Regions from separate parts of the Homo sapiens genome. Here regions 1, 2, 3, 4 and 6 are each linked to region 5. Evidence: promoter capture Hi-C in 16 types of primary human blood cells and fetal thymus (Javierre and others, 2016). All regions are on one chromosome and are shown on one strand. Each heading gives the region's core, a stretch centred on a gene start or on the middle of the fragment in contact. The rest is flanking DNA. Distances are from core to core; before and after follow the strand shown.

Region 1 (3,048 bases), core at 210-2,709, 420 kb before region 5:
CTCTGGTATGAAAAGGTGGTGGGTTTTCCAGTTTGTTCTGAGGGCCCAAGCCCCTTTAGAACAAGAATCAAAACAATGCCTGGGACCTGCCCTGTTATCCAACCCTATGCTCTCTCTTCCTGGTGGAGGCTCCAGAATTTCTGGATCACTGGATTTAGGGGATGCAATCCAGCTGGAAGAGAGTGGAACAGAGTTAGGGAACTTGTCTTGAAGCTGCAATTGCAGGGTTTTGCACCGAGTGTTTTAGGAGGTGGCTTGTGTGGGGTGGTGGTGAGGGGGTGCTGATGAGATTTTAGAGGAAGGTTTTGAGCCTGGGCACTGCTACTGGCTTCCCCTTTTGTTAGAACCTGGCCATGCCTCTGAACATGGCTTCTCTTCTCTCTGTGGACTGACAGCACCTGAGGGAGGGCAGGGAACAACCAGGGAGGCCCCAGCATGGGAACAGAGAAGAGAGACAGGCAGCCCTGCCTGTACCAGGGACCTCTTGAAGACTGTGTGGATGGTCCCTGACTTAGGATTGTTTGATTTAGGATTTTTTGACTTTAGATGGTACAAAAGTGATACACATTCAGCAGAAACTGTACTTTGAGTTTTTGGAATTGGGCTACATTTGTTGATATTGTTTTTTCTATTGCAATTAAGTCTAATAGAAGAGATGTTATATTTTGGTTGCAGTGAGGTTTGAATATGATATCATGTGGTGTATTGTAATGGGAAGAAACCTAATATGTTGAAGAATTTATATGTGTGTGAAGGGGATTCAAGTTTGAGATTATTAGTCATAAGATTAAGTTCCACTGCTACTGTAAATCCTAGAATGCTTATGCCAAGGGCTTTAAGTTTTAGTTTAGTTTAACACAACCATTCTGTTTTCCAACTTCAGTATAGTATTCAATAAATTACATGAGATATTTAACACTATTATAAAATAAGCTTTGTGTTCAATGATTTGCTCAACTGTAGAGTAATGTAAGTGTTCTGAGGACTTTTAAGGTAGACTAGGCTAAGCTCTGATGTTCAGTAGGTTAGGCATATTCAATGCATTTTGGATTTTTAGTACTTTCAACTTATGGTGGGTTTATCAGGATGTAACCCCATTGTAAATCAAGGTGCATCTATATGTGAAAGAAAGTTAGTAGAGAGCCCTGTTCATCTACCAAGTCCTGCAGTGAGGACCAGGGGTGGGGTTGGGAGTGGTGCTCTGCAGGAAGCAGGAAATCACCCTCTCCAGTTACCTGGGGGCAGGGGAGCTGGGGATGAAGTCTGTATTGCTGCTATAATAAATTACTGTAAATTTAGTAGTTTAAAACAACACAAATTTATTATCTTACAGTTCTGAAGATCAGAAGTCTAAAATCAATCTCACTGGGCTAATGTCAAGGGACAAAAGGGCTGATTCCTTCTGGAGGCTCTAGGGGATCTTTTTCCTTGTTTTTACAGCTGCTGGAGGCCACCTGCATTCCTTGGCCCATGCTCCCTTCCTCCATTGTCAAAGCCAGCAAAGGTAGCATCTGCCAATATGACTTCTGCTTCCATAATCACATGTTCTTCTATGACTCTGACCTTCCTGCCTTTGTCTTATAAAGAACCTTATGATTATTTTGGGCCCACCCAGATAATCCAGGATAACCTCCCCATCTCAAAATCCTTAATTTATTCACGTCCACAAAGTCCCTTTTACCAGGTACGATAACATATTCACAGGTTCTGAGGATTAGGACATGGACATTTTTGGAAAGTCTTATTCTGCCTACCACAAAGGCCAAATTCAGAAGGTGAAGAGTGTGTGGTTGGGACACAGGTGTAGGAATTGTTATGTCTATTTGACTAGAACTCCCTCTTCATAAGATTGCCTTGAGTCAAAGAGAGCTGCCAGCCAGAGGACAAAGGAGTTTAAAGGGTTTTTCCTCTATCAGAAGGAGTCCTTTCTGGGCGGTGGTGCTTTTGCCTCTCTGGTGACCTGGGACGAATGTCAAATGCCACAGCAAAGCTTGGAAATATTGCCCAGGTGTTACGACTCTCTACATATATGTTCCAAAAAAGTCTTCAGATGACAAATTAAGATTGACTTAGAAAACTCAGTAGTGGTCCTAAACATCTTAAATAACAGAATTATAATTAAAAATACATCATTTCCTATATTCTACTTTCACCAAATGATATGTACAATCATTTCCTATATCTTTATGTTCACCAAAAACATATTCAGAGTAACACCATTTGCATTAGCCCCAAACAGCTTCCCAAATGCCCACCAATGGTAGAATGGATAAACTGACAGAAGACTGGTGTAATCAATGGAATTCAAAACAGCAGTGAGAACGAACCAACAACTGCATCCAATATGAAAAAATATCAAACAGAATGTTAAGAGATCAGCTTTAAAAAAAAAAGCACATTTTCTATGATTTATATCAAATCCCAAACCAGGGAAAACCAATCATGGTGTTAGAAGTCAGGGCAGTTACTCTTGATGAGGGGGAAAGGTGGTGAACAGCTACTGGAGGAAGGTACAAGTGGGCTTCTGGGATGTTAGTAAGGTTCTGTGTTTCTGTTTGCTAGTTTTATGGATGTGTTAGGTTTGCAAAAATTCATCAAGTTGGACATTTGTGATTTGTGCACTTTGCCATATGAATGCTATACCTCAATATAAAGTTAGAAATATATGTATACTATTTCCAACAGCAACAAAAACTATGAATCCAGTAATAAGTCTAACAAGCAGATATGCAAAACCTTTATGGAAGACATCAAAGAAGACCTAAAAACATGGAGAACGTGGTAGTTAATTTAAAGTGTCAACCTGGCTGGGCTATGGTACCCAGTTATTGGCTCAAACAGTGATCTAGATGTTGCTAGGAAGGTATTTTTTCATATTAGGTTAACACTGAAATCAGGAGATATTGAGGAAAGCAGATTATTCTCCATACTGTGGGTGGCCTCAGAGAAAAGATGGCCGTCTCTGTGAGAGGAAGGAATTCTGCTTCCAGACTACCTCAGGATTCAAGACTGCAACATCAATTTCTGCTGAAATTTCCAGGCTGCTGG
Region 2 (2,789 bases), core at 74-2,573, 400 kb before region 5:
TGAGTAATGAGTGAATCCTTAAGCTGGGGGTGGCTGTGAGAAGAGTGACAAGGTTAGTGGCCACGATGCTGTGGGAGACCAGGCTCTTCACTATAGTTTAAGTGGAATGAACCCCTCATTGTTTCCAAACTAACGATCCTCATCTGAGAAGAGAAGTTCATTTGGAACCCCACTGTCACCTTCTCAGGGCCACCACGGAGTGTATGCTCATCAGGGACTTGGGAGACCACTTTGGCTCACCCCTGCACCCACCGCTTTGCTGACATCCAAGGGGCTGGGGGCCCAAGTCTGGGGAGCTCAATCCTTCATCCATGTCTGATCTCAGCAGCATGTCCCATTCCAGTTCACTATTAAAAATTGTATTTCTACAGCTCTTTTCATAGAAAAAAAAATTGTGTTCCTTGTCTTAGCATGGTGCATTTCTGCAGTTGGACTGAGGTGTTACTAAAGCTAGAGTTTTCTACTCAGAGAGAGGAGAGGACTCCAGACTGCCGGTGCAAGAGATACGTATGTACATGCATGTGTCTGGAAAGAAAATTCTGAGATCAATAAATCTACCAAGAATGAGTGTCTCACATCCATGGGAACCTGTCTGTGCTGCATCCTGTGATCACTGAACACCCCTAAGCCTCCACCATTCTAGATTTCACCTCTTTCCTCCTTTGCCCTGTTGTCCCCTGCTGGCGGTGGCTGCCCTCATCCAGGTGGTACATTACATCCCTTGCAGCTCCCATGTCCTTCTGGCTCCAGCACCATCAGTTTACCATGGAGATTCTCGACCTCCAGGGGCTACCATGCCACTTCTCATACACCCCTGGAAACCTCCTTTCACAGCAAGTAAGCCTTCATCCCTGTTACTCCATTACCTTCTCCACCACAGCCATAGATGTCTCATAGTGAGCACTATTTGGAAGAACTCTGTGCTGCCTAGGAGTAACTTTGAAATTCAATAAATACTTACTAAAGCCTTACTATGTGTCAGGCACATTTCTTGGTGCTGAGGCCACAATAGTGGATAAGGCAGAACTGAATCCTGCCCCAGGGGAACTCACCTTCTACTAGAGGACACAGACATCAACAGAATCAGTGCACAATGATTGAAGCTCAGTTGTGGGAAAAGCCATGAAGTAGTTAGCACAGGGTGCCCCAAGAGCAGCATGGGATGCGCCTGAGTTAGGGTGGGGTGGTTTGGGAAAGCTTCACTGAGAGAATGAGAGGGTGAGTGTGAGTTCGGCAGATGGAGTGAGGAAGGCGCGGTGGGCAGTGCTCCAGGCCAGCACTCTAATGGGCATTCCAATCACCTGGGCACCTTGTTGTGGCGTGGGGCCCAAGATTCTGTTTCTAACAAGCTCCCAAGTGGCTCCAGAGCTGCTGGTCTGGGAACTCACTTTGAGTAGCAAGTTTCTATACCAGTGACTCTCAGCCTTAATTGTGTATGGACATCACCTGGAAGCTTTAAACAATACTGACGCCTGGGTGCTACCTCCAGAGATTCTGATTTGCTTGGTTTTAGATGTGTCCTTGGGATTTGAAGGAAAAAAAAAAAAACCACTCCCCAGGGTATTCTAATGTGCAGCTTGGATTGAGGACCCTTCATCTAGGCAAGGCTAACAGTACGAGTAAAACCCGAGGACATTTAGATGACAACTTTTCTGGGTGGAGGGCCAAGCGCTCAGTCTTCTCTGATCTTGCCTGGGCTCACGAATGCTGTGAACAGTCACTGGTACCTCAAAGAGCTGCATGGGCCAAGCTTGTCTCATTCACACATCTGACAGGGGGTTCTGGCTGTTGGCCGGGTCACCTTGCTCTCCAGGAGTATGCTAGACTCACTGGACGGCATGAGAGCGAGGGTGGAAGCTGCAAGGCCTTCTGAGGCCTAGGCTCCGGAACTTGCATAGAACAGTTCCTCCACATTCTAAGTCACAAGGACTGCCCAGATTCAAGGGGGTGGAGACATATACTCCACCTCTTTATTTAACTGTTTCGTTTGTGGAGGTGAGGTCTCACTATGTTGCTCAGGCTGGCCTCAAACTCCTGGGCTCAGACAATCCTCCTGCCTTGGCCTCCCAAAGTGCTGGGATTACAGATGTGAGCTGCTGCCCTGGCTGCTGGACTCCACCTCTTGATGAGAGGAGACATCACATTACCAAGGACACTGGGGCCTTTGGTATAGAGATTTGCTACAGCGATCCAAGCAGCTACATAAGGACCCTGTGGTCAGAAAATGGAGTCACAGCTGGGGGGTGGAATCCCTGTTTAATCTTTGAGGACTGGAGCCTGACAGTGGTCTCAGACTGTCTGATCGGAATGCAAATTTCCTACCTCAATTTTGCCCCTGGTGAGATGGTGAGAAGAGAACAAGGATGAGAGGATGCTTTCCCCACGTCCATGGTGCTTCCTGCCTGCCTGACCCCACGGCAGGATTAACCTCATGGCATTCCAACCTCCAGGGGCCCTTTCCACACACAGCTGCTTTCTGGCCAAACTTACAGGCCAGGAGTGGTTCAGACTTCACAGATAGGAAGGTCCTCTCAGCAGTAGGCAGCTCCCATTACGGTGGGAATGGAAGGAGGGAGAGCCTCCTGACCCTCAGTGCTCTTCTTCCCACCAGAAAGTCCACCATGGTTAGGTATGCTCTGAGCTTTATCATCCTTTAGCAAGGAATTCAGGACCTTTGGGTGAAGATCTGGAGGAGTAAGAGGAAGGGGTAGTAGTATGGCAGCACCAGAGCCAAAGACAAGCCTGGAATTGCAGAGTAGCCCTGGCCTGCCTCTCACCACCTGGAGGGC
Region 3 (2,700 bases), core at 144-2,643, 370 kb before region 5:
AGGCAGAGGATGAGTTTTTGGCCTGAAGGCCTTTGTTCAGTGTCAGAGGGAAGATTACAGGTTGCAGTTTGGGGCTGTACTAATTTAAGGCAGCAAGAACAATTCAGGAACCCACCTGTGCAGTGGGGGAAGGGGAGAAGAGGGTGGGGATTGGACCCTAATATACTGCCAGGTCTAGTTAAGGTCAGTTCAGGGCTTGCCATGTTCTGTCAACATGATTCCATATACTCTTCACATGACCTATGACATAGATATGGTCTTTATTTTACAGATGAGAAAAATGAGCCCCAGGGAGATAACTTGCCCAACATCTCACAACTGGTAAGAGGTACAGCCAAAACGAAAACCCGGGTCTGTCCTATGCCAAAGACTACCCTTTTAACTCCTGGAGACTGGGCTGTGATCTCTCCCTTCTTTGAGAAATATGTTCTTAAATTAACAATCTTGTTCACAGCAAAGTAATGGCACATGAAGGAAATCTAAGGCCTGTGTATCTAGCACTTAGACCAGGGCCCTTTCCTCTCACTGTTCCCTCAAGTACCATGGCCTTTGCAGCCCTCCTTGTCCCCAACCCAATTTGGCATTAAAACTTTTTTGGAAACACATATTCGTTCTATCTCTGGATGACTGAAAATAGAAATTAAAGCTGAAGAGACTTCTGTTCGAAACAAGGAAAACCTTGTCAGCAAGGAACAGAAAATTTTTTGAGTGAGAATGACATACAGGTGTGGAGTCGCTTTGCTTTGAGGTTTTTCTGAAGAAAATAGACTATAGCTGCTGTTTTTTGTTAGTTCAGGGTGACTAAAATCCATCAGTGACATCAACCAAGACCCAAACTAAGTTTTTATTCTTATAAATTCCACGTTGCTATGATCTGAACGTTTGTGTCCTCCCCAAAATCCATATGTTGAAACCTAATCTCCATTGCAAGTATTAAGAGGTGGGGCTTTTAGGAGATGATGAGGTCATGAGGGCTCTGCTGTCATGAGTGTGATTAGGGTCTCTTGTTAAAGAGGCTTGAGGGAGCTTGATTTTCCCTTCCACCTAAATCTGCTGACTCCTTGATCTTGGACTTCCCAGCCTCCAGAACCATGAGCAATAAATTTCTGTTGTTTATAAATTGCCCAGTCTAAGGTATTTTGTTATAGCAGCCTGAATAAACTAAGATATTTTGTTAACTTATACTACTGAGAAGACTTGATGCATATTTTAGAGATATTATTTATCCATTTAGTCACTTGTGTGCAAAATCCATTTTATGTGTGCATGTAACACTGTCCTTTGCATTTTTGCTTTAATGGAAAGTTTATTACTCTGTTTCTGTTTCAAAATCTGCACACCCAGCCTGCAGGTCACTGTCTTGGGTGTGGACAAACTCATCTTCTAAATCTCCATTTAATCTCTAGAACCTTCTCATGTGCCCTGCCCAAGGCACCTGTGGATGTAGTAGGTTACCTGCAAAGAGAAAGACATGTGTCTCTCAAAAGAATGTGGAGAACAAAATAAAGCAGTAATGGATTATAACACAAAGTATAAATATTTATGAGTTCATATATTTTTGTAAATAAATGAATAAATAACAAAGTGGGCAAAGAGGCAAATCTCCAATGCAGAAGAATTTCAAATTATTTATATAGACACTGCACCCTCAAGGAGGTAGAACATAACTCTCCACATTAGCTTCTTGTGGCTGCTATAACAAATTGCCACACTCGGCGATTTTTGACAAAGATCTATTTTCACAGTTATAGGGGCCAGAAATCTGCCATCAGTATCACTGAACTAAAATCAAGGTGTCAGTGGGTCTGTGCTCTCTCTGGAGTCTCTGGGGTCTCCTTGCCTCCTCCAGTTTCTCCTGATTGCTGGCCGCATTTCTCCACTCTCTGCCTCTGGGATCACATTGCTTTTCCCTTCTTCTGGGTCAATCTCCCTCTGGCTTCCTCCTCTTCTTCAACTTTTAAGTTCTGGGGTACATGTGCAGGATGTACAGGTTTGTTACATAGGTAAATGTGTGCCATGGTGGTTTGCTGCACAGATCAACCTGTTACCTAGGTATTGAGCCCAGCATCCATTAGCTATTCTTCCTGATGCTCTCCCTTCCCCCTGCCCTCCCTGACAGGCCCCAGTGTGTGTTGTTCCCTGTCCCCACCATGTGTCCATGTGTTCTCATCATTCAGCTCCTACTTTTAATAGGAAACATGTGGTGTTTGGTTTTCAGTTCTTGCGTTAGTTTGCTGAGGATAATGGCTTCCAGCTCCATTCATGTCCCTGCAAAGGACATGATCTCATTACTTTTTTATGGCTGTATAGTATTCCATGGTGTATATGTACCACATTTTCTTTATCCAGTCTATCATTGATGGACATTTGGGTTGGTTCCACGTCTTCGTTATTGCGAATAGTGCTATAATGAACATACGTGGACTTGTATCTTTATAACAGAATGATTTATATTCCTTTGGGCATATACCCAGTAATGGGATTGCTGGGTCAAACTGTGTTTGTTTCTAGATCTTTGAGGAATTGCCACACTATCTTCCACAATGGTGGAACTAATTTACATTCCCACTAACAATGTAAAAGCATTCTTTTTCTCTGCAACCTCATTGGCATCTGTTGTTTCTTATTAATAATCACCATTATGACTGGTATAAAATGGTAGCTCATTGTGGTTTTGATTTGCATTTCTCTAGTGATCAG
Region 4 (2,700 bases), core at 35-2,534, 450 kb before region 5:
CCTTTCTGGATCCAGTCTCCCAGGCTTCTTTGTGTGTTTTCCTTTCACCTGTCCAGCCCAAGTCCTAGAAGCTTCACTTTTATATTCAAGTTAAGTAAAAGAACTCATTTCTCCTCAGGCAGAACTCTGTCTCTATATCTTAGAATAATACACATGTACACACAAATACACATATTTCTCTCTCTGCTACACAAATGTTTTAAAAATTAGTCTGCCTGATAAGCACATAGGCATTGGCTGTATTAGTCTCTGTGTTTACTTTCCTGTGTGCTCGAAAATATTTCAAAATAAAAAATTAAAAGGAAAATGAATGGAGAAGACTGGGGATGTCATGATCAATGCTGGACATAGGGGAAATAGCTCCGTTGGTACACAGAGTCTCATTTATTTATTTACAAACGTCTGGCTTACGATGTGCCGGGCATTATTCTAGGTGCTTTGGAAATATGTCTTCAAATCCTCATTCTAATCCTATGGTATTATTATTATTGTCTGCATTTTACAGATGAGGAAACAGAAAAGTTAAGCACCTTACACAAGGTCATGTGTTTGCAAGTAGTAAAGCCAGGATTCAAACCCAGGCTGTCTGGCTCCAGAGGCCATACCTGTAACCACCATGCCTTCCTGCTTCTTGACAAGTGTCCCTTGTAGGCCAGTGGGATTCAAGGGCAGTGGGGACTCAGGGGGCAGTAACAAAGCAGCAAGCTCTTAGTAACTTTTTTTTTTTTTTTTTGAGACAGGGCACACTCTGTCACCCAGGCTGGAGTGCAGTGGCACGATCTAGGCTCACTGCAACCTCCACCTCCCGGGTTCAAGTGATTCTCATGCCTCAGCCTCCCTAGTAGCAGGGATTACAGGCAACTGCCACCATGTCCGGCTAATTTTTTGTTTTGTTTTGTTTTTTGAGATGGGGTCTTGCTCTGTCGCCCAGGCTGGAGTGCCGTGGCGCAGTCTCGGCTCAGTGCAAGCTCTGCCTCCCGGGTTCACGCCATTCTCCTGCCTCAGCCTCCTGAGTAGCTGGGACTACAGGCGCCCGCCACCACGCCCACCTACTTTTTTGTATTTTTAGTAGAGATGGGGTTTCACTGTGGTCAGGATGGTCTCGATCTCCTGACCTCGTGATCTGCCCGCCTCGGCCTCCCGAAGTGCTGGGATTACAGGTGTGAGCCACCGCGCCTGGCCAATTTTTGTATTTTTAGTAGAGACGAGGTTTCACCATGTTGGCTAGGCTGGTCTCGAACTCCCGTCCTCAAGTGATCTGCCTGCCTCAGCCTGCAAAGTGCTGGGATTACAGGCGTGAGCCACCATGCCCCATCTCTTAGTAGTTTTTGAGGAGCAGTTTAGAGTGTCAGCAAAGTTCTTCACAGATCCAAGAGTTGTTAGCTGATGTAATCCGGCTGGATGAGGGAGGTAGAGAGGAAGGCAAGAGGTGGCGGGTGGCTGAGGGCTGCTTGCGTAACATCTTGACTGTGGCAGCAGACACAGTGGAGGTTGTGAGATTTGTTATGGATGTTAAGAAGGGCTAAAGAGCCACTAGGTGATCATAGCTCACTGTAGGCTGGGTTCAGTGGCTCATCTCTGTAATCCTCAGCACTTTGGGAGGTTGAGGCAGAAGGATCACTTGAGCCCAGGAGCTTGAGGCTGCAGTGAGCTATGATTGTGCCACTGCACTGAAGCCTGGGCAACAGAGTGAGACCCTGTCTCTTAAAAAAAAAAAAAAAAGCTCACGATAACCTTAAACTCCTGGGCTCAAGTGATCCTCCAGGCACAGCCTCCCTAGTAGCTAGGACTACAGACACATACCACTATGCTCAGCTAATTTTTAATTTTTTTGTAGAGACAGGGTCTCACCTCGTTGTCCAGGCTTGCATTGCATTGTTCTTTTTTCTTTTTTTCTTTTTTTTTTTTTTTGAGACAGAGTCTTGTTCTGTCACCCAGGCTGGAGAGCAGTGGCACCATCTCTGCTCACTGCAACCTCCACCTTCCAGGTTTAAGCGATTCTCTGGCCTCAACCTCCCAAGTAGCTGGGATTATAGGTGTGTGCCACCATGCCTGGCTAATTTTTGTTATTTTCAGTAGAGATGGGGTTTTGCCACGTTGGCCAGGCTGGTCTTGAACTCCTGACTTTGGGTGATCCACCCATCTTGGCCTCCCAAAGTGGTGGGATCACAGGTGTGAGGAGGCTTGCCTTGTTCTTTAAAGTCAAGAAAACATAGTTTCTAGGAAATGGAAAAAAAAGATAATGAGATAATAGAAATGAAGATGGATCTGCCTAATGGAGTACATAAAGAGGAAGGAAGATGAAATAAAAAGGAAAGAACACTTTGAAATGAAATGTGGTAGTGGTTTCCATAGTACTTAATGTTTTAGAAGTGGGGATCTTATGGGAAAATCTAGGTTTCAGTTAAGACAAGGAGGTGAAGGAAACCTTAGTAGAAAGGTTGGCAGTATGGGGGCATTTATTACACTCAAAACTAATTCTGGTGGGCATGGTGGAAAAGCTTGAGACAGAAACAGAAGGAAGTTGAGTCAGGGCATGGAAACCCTGAGTGCTATGATGATGAAAATACCAGAGGTGGTAGACGGCCAGAGAGCCTTGTGTTACAGAGTCATGTGTGTGGGGCAGGGTGAGTTTAATTGGCTACTCAGGTAGGACACAAACCAGCTAAGGCTCTGGAAGTACACATGCACTTTTCACCA
Region 5 (2,890 bases), core at 199-2,698:
GCACGAAATGTGCATTTAGGAAACTGAGATTTGATTTCTATTATCGATAAAGCTCATCTGAGTCAGTTGAATCTTAGACGACAAACAGCAAGAGGGAAGAGTGGGTGTAAGGAAACAGATGGGTATTAATCATGTGTCAGAGATAAATGACAGTTTTTTAAAGAATTTGATAGGGTGTGGGCTGGAGCTTGCTTTTTTATTTTCTATTTCTATTTCCTATTTTCTATTTTTAGTTTTGGGCAAGAGATGGAGATTAGGGGTGAGAAAAGGAAGGAAGAGAAAAGGCAAGACAATAGGCCAGACCCGAGAGCCTGATCTGCATCCTAAAGCAGTCTGCCCCTCCCTCCCTTCCCCCCAACACCAGGTAGGCTGTGGTGTGATTTAAAAATAAGCAGACACCGACTCCCGCCTCCGGGACCGGGGATGGCCTCCGCCCCGGCTGCAGAAAGGGAGGGGAGGCAGGGAGAGGAGAGGGAAGATGGAAGAAACAGACTGGCAAGACCCCCTCGGGTACAGTGGGATTTTTCCCTCCAAAGTGGTGGAGCCGCATAAAATCAAAACCCACGAGGCCCGCTCACGTGCCGGTTGCCCCGATCTCAATGTAGGCGGCTGCCGACGCCGCACCTGCTCGGCCGGCCACTGCGGCTGAGCGCCGCGCAGCCAGCGATCGCGAGGCCCCGGGGGACGCGCCCAGCCCCGCCAAGCCCGCCTCGCACCGCTACCCCGGAGGGCGGCGGCCGAGCGGGAAGGAAAGAGAGGGGAGGGGAGGGAGGGGAGGGGAGGAGCGGCCCCGCCCGGCTAGGCGAGGCGAGGCTTGCCGCCCCTCCATTCGGACCCAAAAGAAAGCCCCACCTGTCAGGCGTTACGCTCCGGGCGAGGGTCCCACCATCCCCAAGCAGGGGCCAGTGCTTGCAGCCCCGATTTCCTAAGAGCCTCGGATGCTACATCATCACCAGAAACCTTTAGGCGCAAAACACACCGCTGCCGGCCAGGGCTGCAGCACCGACGCGCTCGGCAACAGACGCGCCCCACCTGGGCCAAGCGGCTCCCGCCCGGCCGAGGGATGCCAGGGTCTCCGCGCCAGGAGACCAGCGACCCCAGGCAGCCCACCAGGCCCGCTCCCCAGACCCTTACCTCCTGCGCGGCATCTTAGCTATCTCCGGTCGGCCACTGCGGGTTGGTTTTGTTATTTTATGGGTTTGGGGGGTGGGGTGCGCTTAAAAAATCCACCCAGCTAATCTGCAGGGCAGCGTTTTCTGCCCATGCTGCAGCCCGCGCTCGTCAGAGCTGCTGGGAGATCCCCCAGCAGTGCAGCGGCTCCGCGGCGGCGGGGATGACTGGCCACCGACGCCGCAGTTCCTTGACAAAAGGCTCGGGTTCCCGCTAGTCCCTCACAGCCCTGCCGTCAGAATTAAAGCCATTTCCCGCACGAGGCTGGGAGGAAATGAGAGCTCTCCTGGCCCTGCGCGCTGACAAAAGGCCGCTGCGCGGTGCCCACAGCGCCCCCTCCAGCAGGCCGCGCCGGCCGCCCGAGGGCCGCGGTGCTGCAGTGCCCCCGCCCGCAGCGCCCCCCACCGCCCCGCAGCGGCCTCGCCCCGCAGCACCCCCACTACCGCCCCGCAGCGCCCCCCTCCTCCCCGCAGCGCCCCCGCCCGCGCCGCCGCAGACCCCCCTAGCCAGGCTTCCAGCCCCCTTCCACCCCCGCCCCGCACCACTCACTACCCGGGATGGCCAGAGCTAAGCAGGGGAGTCTGTTACTAGGGAGAAAATCTGAAACAGAGCTCCCTTGGGGGAATGTATTCTCCCTGGAAGGAAGAAAGCAAAAGTCTTAGACTTGGAATATTTCTTTTCGTCTGGAAAGGACAGCTAGCCTTCGGAAGATAATTCTATTAGTGATTTTAATAGCAATTGTTTGACTGAATTCCAAACCAAAATTCTCCCTGTCCTGATTCTCACTCCTTTTCAACCAGGACAACATTTTTGTTGTGGCCCTGCCCTTGGGGGCTGTGGACCCAACGCTCTCCAACTCTCACTACATTCTCCTCTCACTCCTTTCCTTCCTCAGGTCTCCCGCCCCAGAAGGAACAGGTGTGTAGTGAGTGGGGAACTGGATAGGGAACCAGAATACTTCGGTTGCCGTCTCAGAGCTGCTCTTAACTAGCTGTGAGACCTTAATCAACCCACTTAACCTCTCTGGGCCTCGTTGTCTTCCTCTGTAAAATGACAGTGTACCTAAGGCACCTCCCATTTCCAATACTTTCAAGGCCTGGCCCTCAGAGAGTAGGGGTGTTAAGAGATAGCTCTGGACTTTTCACCCCCATAATCTCCACCAGTCCCCAAAACTCCCCTCAATCAACATCCTCTCCAAGGGCTTTTGAAAATGTGCTTGTGAAAATGTACAGCTTCCAGAAAAGCCTCTGGCCACTGATCTGAAACCTGATCATGGCCCCTCTGCCCTTCCAGGTTCTGGGGCACCACAGCCCTCAGACACCCCCACAAAAGTCACTGGCCCCCACCACAGTGCTGCTGTGGAACCAGAATCTCTGGAGGTAGGCTCAGGATTGGTAATTTTAACAAGCAGCCCTAGTGATTCCTTTGCACACTAACACTTTAGAAACACCACTCTGAGAGCTACTACTGATTTAGAAAAGAAAATGCTAACGACAACCCTAGATGCCAGGATAAACTTGTCTTTCTGCTTCAGCCCCCCTTCCAAGAAACATACATGCATACCTGGTCCCTGCACCCTCCTTCCACACTCAGAGCTTCTCACTCATTCTCATTCAGAATCACCGAGTCCACAAGACTTCTCCCCATTCTCCTGTCAAAACCTGCTAGAAGAATTACAACAGGCTCAGCCACACAAGATGAAACCCCTTCCCCTCCCCAC
Region 6 (2,987 bases), core at 433-2,932, 350 kb before region 5:
CTTGAAGAGGTATTATATTGAAGGTAGACTGTGTATTATAAACACTAGAGCAATCACCAAAAAGTAGAACAAAGAGGTGTAATTATTAAGCCAGTAGTAGAGATAAATAATTATTAAAACACTCTGTTAATCCAAAAAAGGCGGGAAGAGAGAAAAAGAACAAAGAACAGATAGGACAAATTGTCAGGTGGTCGATTTAGTCCAACCATATTTATATCAAATGCAAATATCTAAATATTCCAAATAAAAAACAGAGGTGGTAAGATTGGAAAAAAAAGCAAGACTGATCGTATGCTGACTACAAAAAACCTACTTTAAATATAAAAACATACATGAAAAATGCCATGCAAGTAATAATAAAAGAGTGGCTATATGAGACAAAGTAGACTTCAGAACAAGGGGGACGTTACATATGTTAAAGGGGTCAATACATTAAGAAGACATAACAATCCTAAATATCTATGTACCCAATAAAAAGCTTCAAAAAACATAAAACAAATACTGATGGAATGAGAAGGACTAGACAAATACATAATTATAGCAGGAAACAAGAACCCAAAAGACATAATTTTTAATTACTAAAGGAAGATCATACAAAGGATATTTTTCAACAGTGAGTGGCTTTGTAATACACTTAATTTTAGAAAAAATTGTGTAATCATTAACCGAGTGTTTGCTTTGAACAACATACAAAAGAGGATTCAGAAGTAAGGTTATAGAGGTAACACCTTAGATGAAATTAATTCACTATATTATTAAAAAGCAAGCTTTCCAATAATGCTGTTGAAGCCATATGTACCCTAGGTGCTAGATCAGCAATTTGGTAATAATGAAAAAAAAGACTATAAAAATACAGTGGAATCTTAATATTCTGAATGAGATGGGTAGTGACTACAAGCATCTTTTATACCACATAGAGATTAGCTGATTATCTTGTGGCAGAATGCTTAAAAACAAGAAATTTCCTTTTATAAAGAGAAGGGCTATGAATATGCTGCCCATTTATCAGTGATGACAAGTGACCCTTAGAAGTGTGCTTTCTAAAAGCAATTTTTAAAACAATAAACACAGGTATTTTGTTCTTCTGAGGTAATGGTGATCCTCTAGCAATGAGGGAGAAAATAGTTGCTTTGCGATGACGGGAACTTGTGCTATGGAGACAGAATTGAGGATGAGTATTTGGTAATGTAGTCATATAATTTTATAGTAAAAAGTGCAGTGGGCCTCCTAAAAAAAATGCCCAGATCTGCCTTCTTAAAAAACTTAGGAACATGCTTTTCTCAGTATTTACAAATCTTTAAATGAAGAGTTTCAGTGAGTTTTGAACCTTGTTAATGTAAAAATGTGACACCTTCCAATTAGTTTGTGGAACAATTGGCGTCAGGAATATATAAATTCACCAGCTGCATTTCAACAAAAGCCTTTGTATAATTGGTGTCAGTTTGAACACTGAATATCACAATTCGCTTCTCCCATTTGGATGTACTGCAGGTGTCTTTGGGAAGTATCTTTTCCAGCAATAATAGCCAATCAATACAAGTATTGAAAAAAGCCCACTTTAGAACAAATCTTGGAAATGCTGCATCAAAATGAATTAAACAAGATTTCAAACTGTAATAAAGCATACCCAAGCACATTTCTCATTAAAAATATTAATAGAATTTTTTAGTGAAAGCCCAAATAATGTAGCTTAGTAAAAAAAATTAAAGCCTGGTTCAACTTATTAGAAGTGTGGTAACTCATCACTTCTTTCACACACAGCATTCTCCCTCCCCTACCCCAGCCTGGTTTTCAGCATAGGACGATTTTCCTAAAGGAACTCTTGAGTGGTGAAGACAACTGTTCAAATGGAGTTCCCCTAACCCAAGCAGGGCACACCCACACCCAAGGCCCTTCGACCCTCCTCTCTCCCCATCCCTTAAATTTAGAGGAATGGTTGGAAATGAATTAAGGATGCTGGTTATATTAGTCTGTTCTTGCATTGCTATAAAGCACTGCCTGAGACTAGATAATTTATAAGAAAAGAGGTTTAATTGACTCACAGTTCTACAGGCTGTACAGGAAGCATGGCTGGGGAGGCCTCAGGAAACTTAAAATCACGGAGGAAAGCGAAGGGGAAGCAGACACATCTTTACCCAGCAAAGCAGGCTACAGAGCGTGAAGGGGGACGTGCTACACGCTTTTAAACCACCAGATCCCGCGAGAACTCACTCACTGTCACCAGAACAGCAAGGAGGAAGTCCGTCCCCATGATCCAATCACCTCCCACGAGGCCTCTCCTCCAGCAATGAGGATTACAATTTGACATGAGATTTGGGTGGGAACACAGAGCCGAACCATATCACTGGTCATTGTGGTGTCTCTAAAAGGCCAGGAACCAGTTTGAGGACCACCCACTGGGAGGAGAGCTCTGAACCAACACCTGTGAATAACGATTGTAGCCTTTGCCCATGCTGTACACATGCGTAGTGCTTTCCCACACCTGGGTCCTTTCAACCTCGTTAACCTAGGCAATAATTATTATTTTCGTCTTACAGCTGAGGAAACGGAGGCTCAAATGCTCGTCAGTTTCCCAGGGACGTGGGCTGGTAAGTAGCAAAGCTTGGAGTTGGACCCAGTTGATCCAACCTCTACTTATTTTTGAGGGGTAAGAGATATGTGTAAAGGGGGTGATAGATTTCATATGTGTATGGGCCCCTTAGGGGGCCTGTGTGAAGAGCCCAGGGAAGGCTAAGGTGGGTGGCTAGACCAGTTCTGCTAAGGAGAGCCAGAGTTTCAAAGAAAGGGAAATGTTTTAGATGCCTCTAAAACATGTTCCTAAATTCAGCCGCCCATCAGCATCATCCAGAGAGGTTAAACGAAAAACAAACAAACAAACAAAGGCTAATTCCTGGGCTCCTCCTCAAACCCTATCAAATTAGTATTGTGAAGAAAACAGAATCCACCTGAATTTTTTCCAACAGCTTTCCTGAAGCCAGATGGAGACT

The links. The method cuts DNA at HindIII sites, captures the fragments that hold promoters and counts their contacts. A CHiCAGO score of 5 or more calls a contact.
Region 1: a contact is called between a fragment that was not itself captured here and the fragment with the promoter of ADD2 in region 5, in 11 of 17 cell types (M0 macrophages, M1 macrophages, M2 macrophages and 8 more). The highest score is 15.8, in M0 macrophages.
Region 2: a contact is called between a fragment that was not itself captured here and the fragment with the promoter of ADD2 in region 5, in 3 of 17 cell types (M1 macrophages, M0 macrophages and M2 macrophages). The highest score is 10.1, in M1 macrophages.
Region 3: a contact is called between a fragment that was not itself captured here and the fragment with the promoter of ADD2 in region 5, in 1 of 17 cell types (M2 macrophages). The highest score is 5.0, in M2 macrophages.
Region 4: a fragment that was not itself captured here is called in contact with the fragment with the promoter of ADD2 in region 5 in 14 of 17 cell types (M1 macrophages, M2 macrophages, M0 macrophages and 11 more); the score reaches 22.7 in M1 macrophages.
Region 6: a contact is called between a fragment that was not itself captured here and the fragment with the promoter of ADD2 in region 5, in 3 of 17 cell types (M1 macrophages, M2 macrophages and M0 macrophages). The highest score is 7.7, in M1 macrophages.

What each region holds. Positions count from the first base shown.
Region 1 is chr2:70,346,553-70,349,600 of GRCh38, forward strand. It overlaps the pseudogene BRD7P6. Among named protein-coding and RNA genes, the nearest start is that of FAM136A, 46 kb to the left of the region's middle. The HindIII fragment of the contact is 1,057 bases long and covers 932-1,988 here.
Region 2 is chr2:70,362,868-70,365,656 of GRCh38, forward strand. No RefSeq gene overlaps it. Among named protein-coding and RNA genes, the nearest start is that of FAM136A, 62 kb to the left of the region's middle. The HindIII fragment of the contact is 256 bases long and covers 1,196-1,451 here.
Region 3 is chr2:70,392,367-70,395,066 of GRCh38, forward strand. No RefSeq gene overlaps it. Among named protein-coding and RNA genes, the nearest start is that of TGFA-IT1, 88 kb to the right of the region's middle. The HindIII fragment of the contact is 5,769 bases long and covers 1-2,700 here.
Region 4 is chr2:70,320,138-70,322,837 of GRCh38, forward strand. No RefSeq gene overlaps it. Among named protein-coding and RNA genes, the nearest start is that of FAM136A, 19 kb to the left of the region's middle. The HindIII fragment of the contact is 2,430 bases long and covers 70-2,499 here.
Region 5 is chr2:70,766,752-70,769,641 of GRCh38, forward strand. It overlaps ADD2 (adducin 2), which reads right to left and starts at 1,449. Exons shown (of 16, transcript NM_001617.4): 1 at 1,135-1,449. RefSeq lists enhancers at 584-1,149, 1,150-1,715, 2,125-2,689. The HindIII fragment of the contact is 9,920 bases long and covers 1-2,890 here.
Region 6 is chr2:70,416,413-70,419,399 of GRCh38, forward strand. No RefSeq gene overlaps it. Among named protein-coding and RNA genes, the nearest start is that of TGFA-IT1, 64 kb to the right of the region's middle. The HindIII fragment of the contact is 1,834 bases long and covers 766-2,599 here.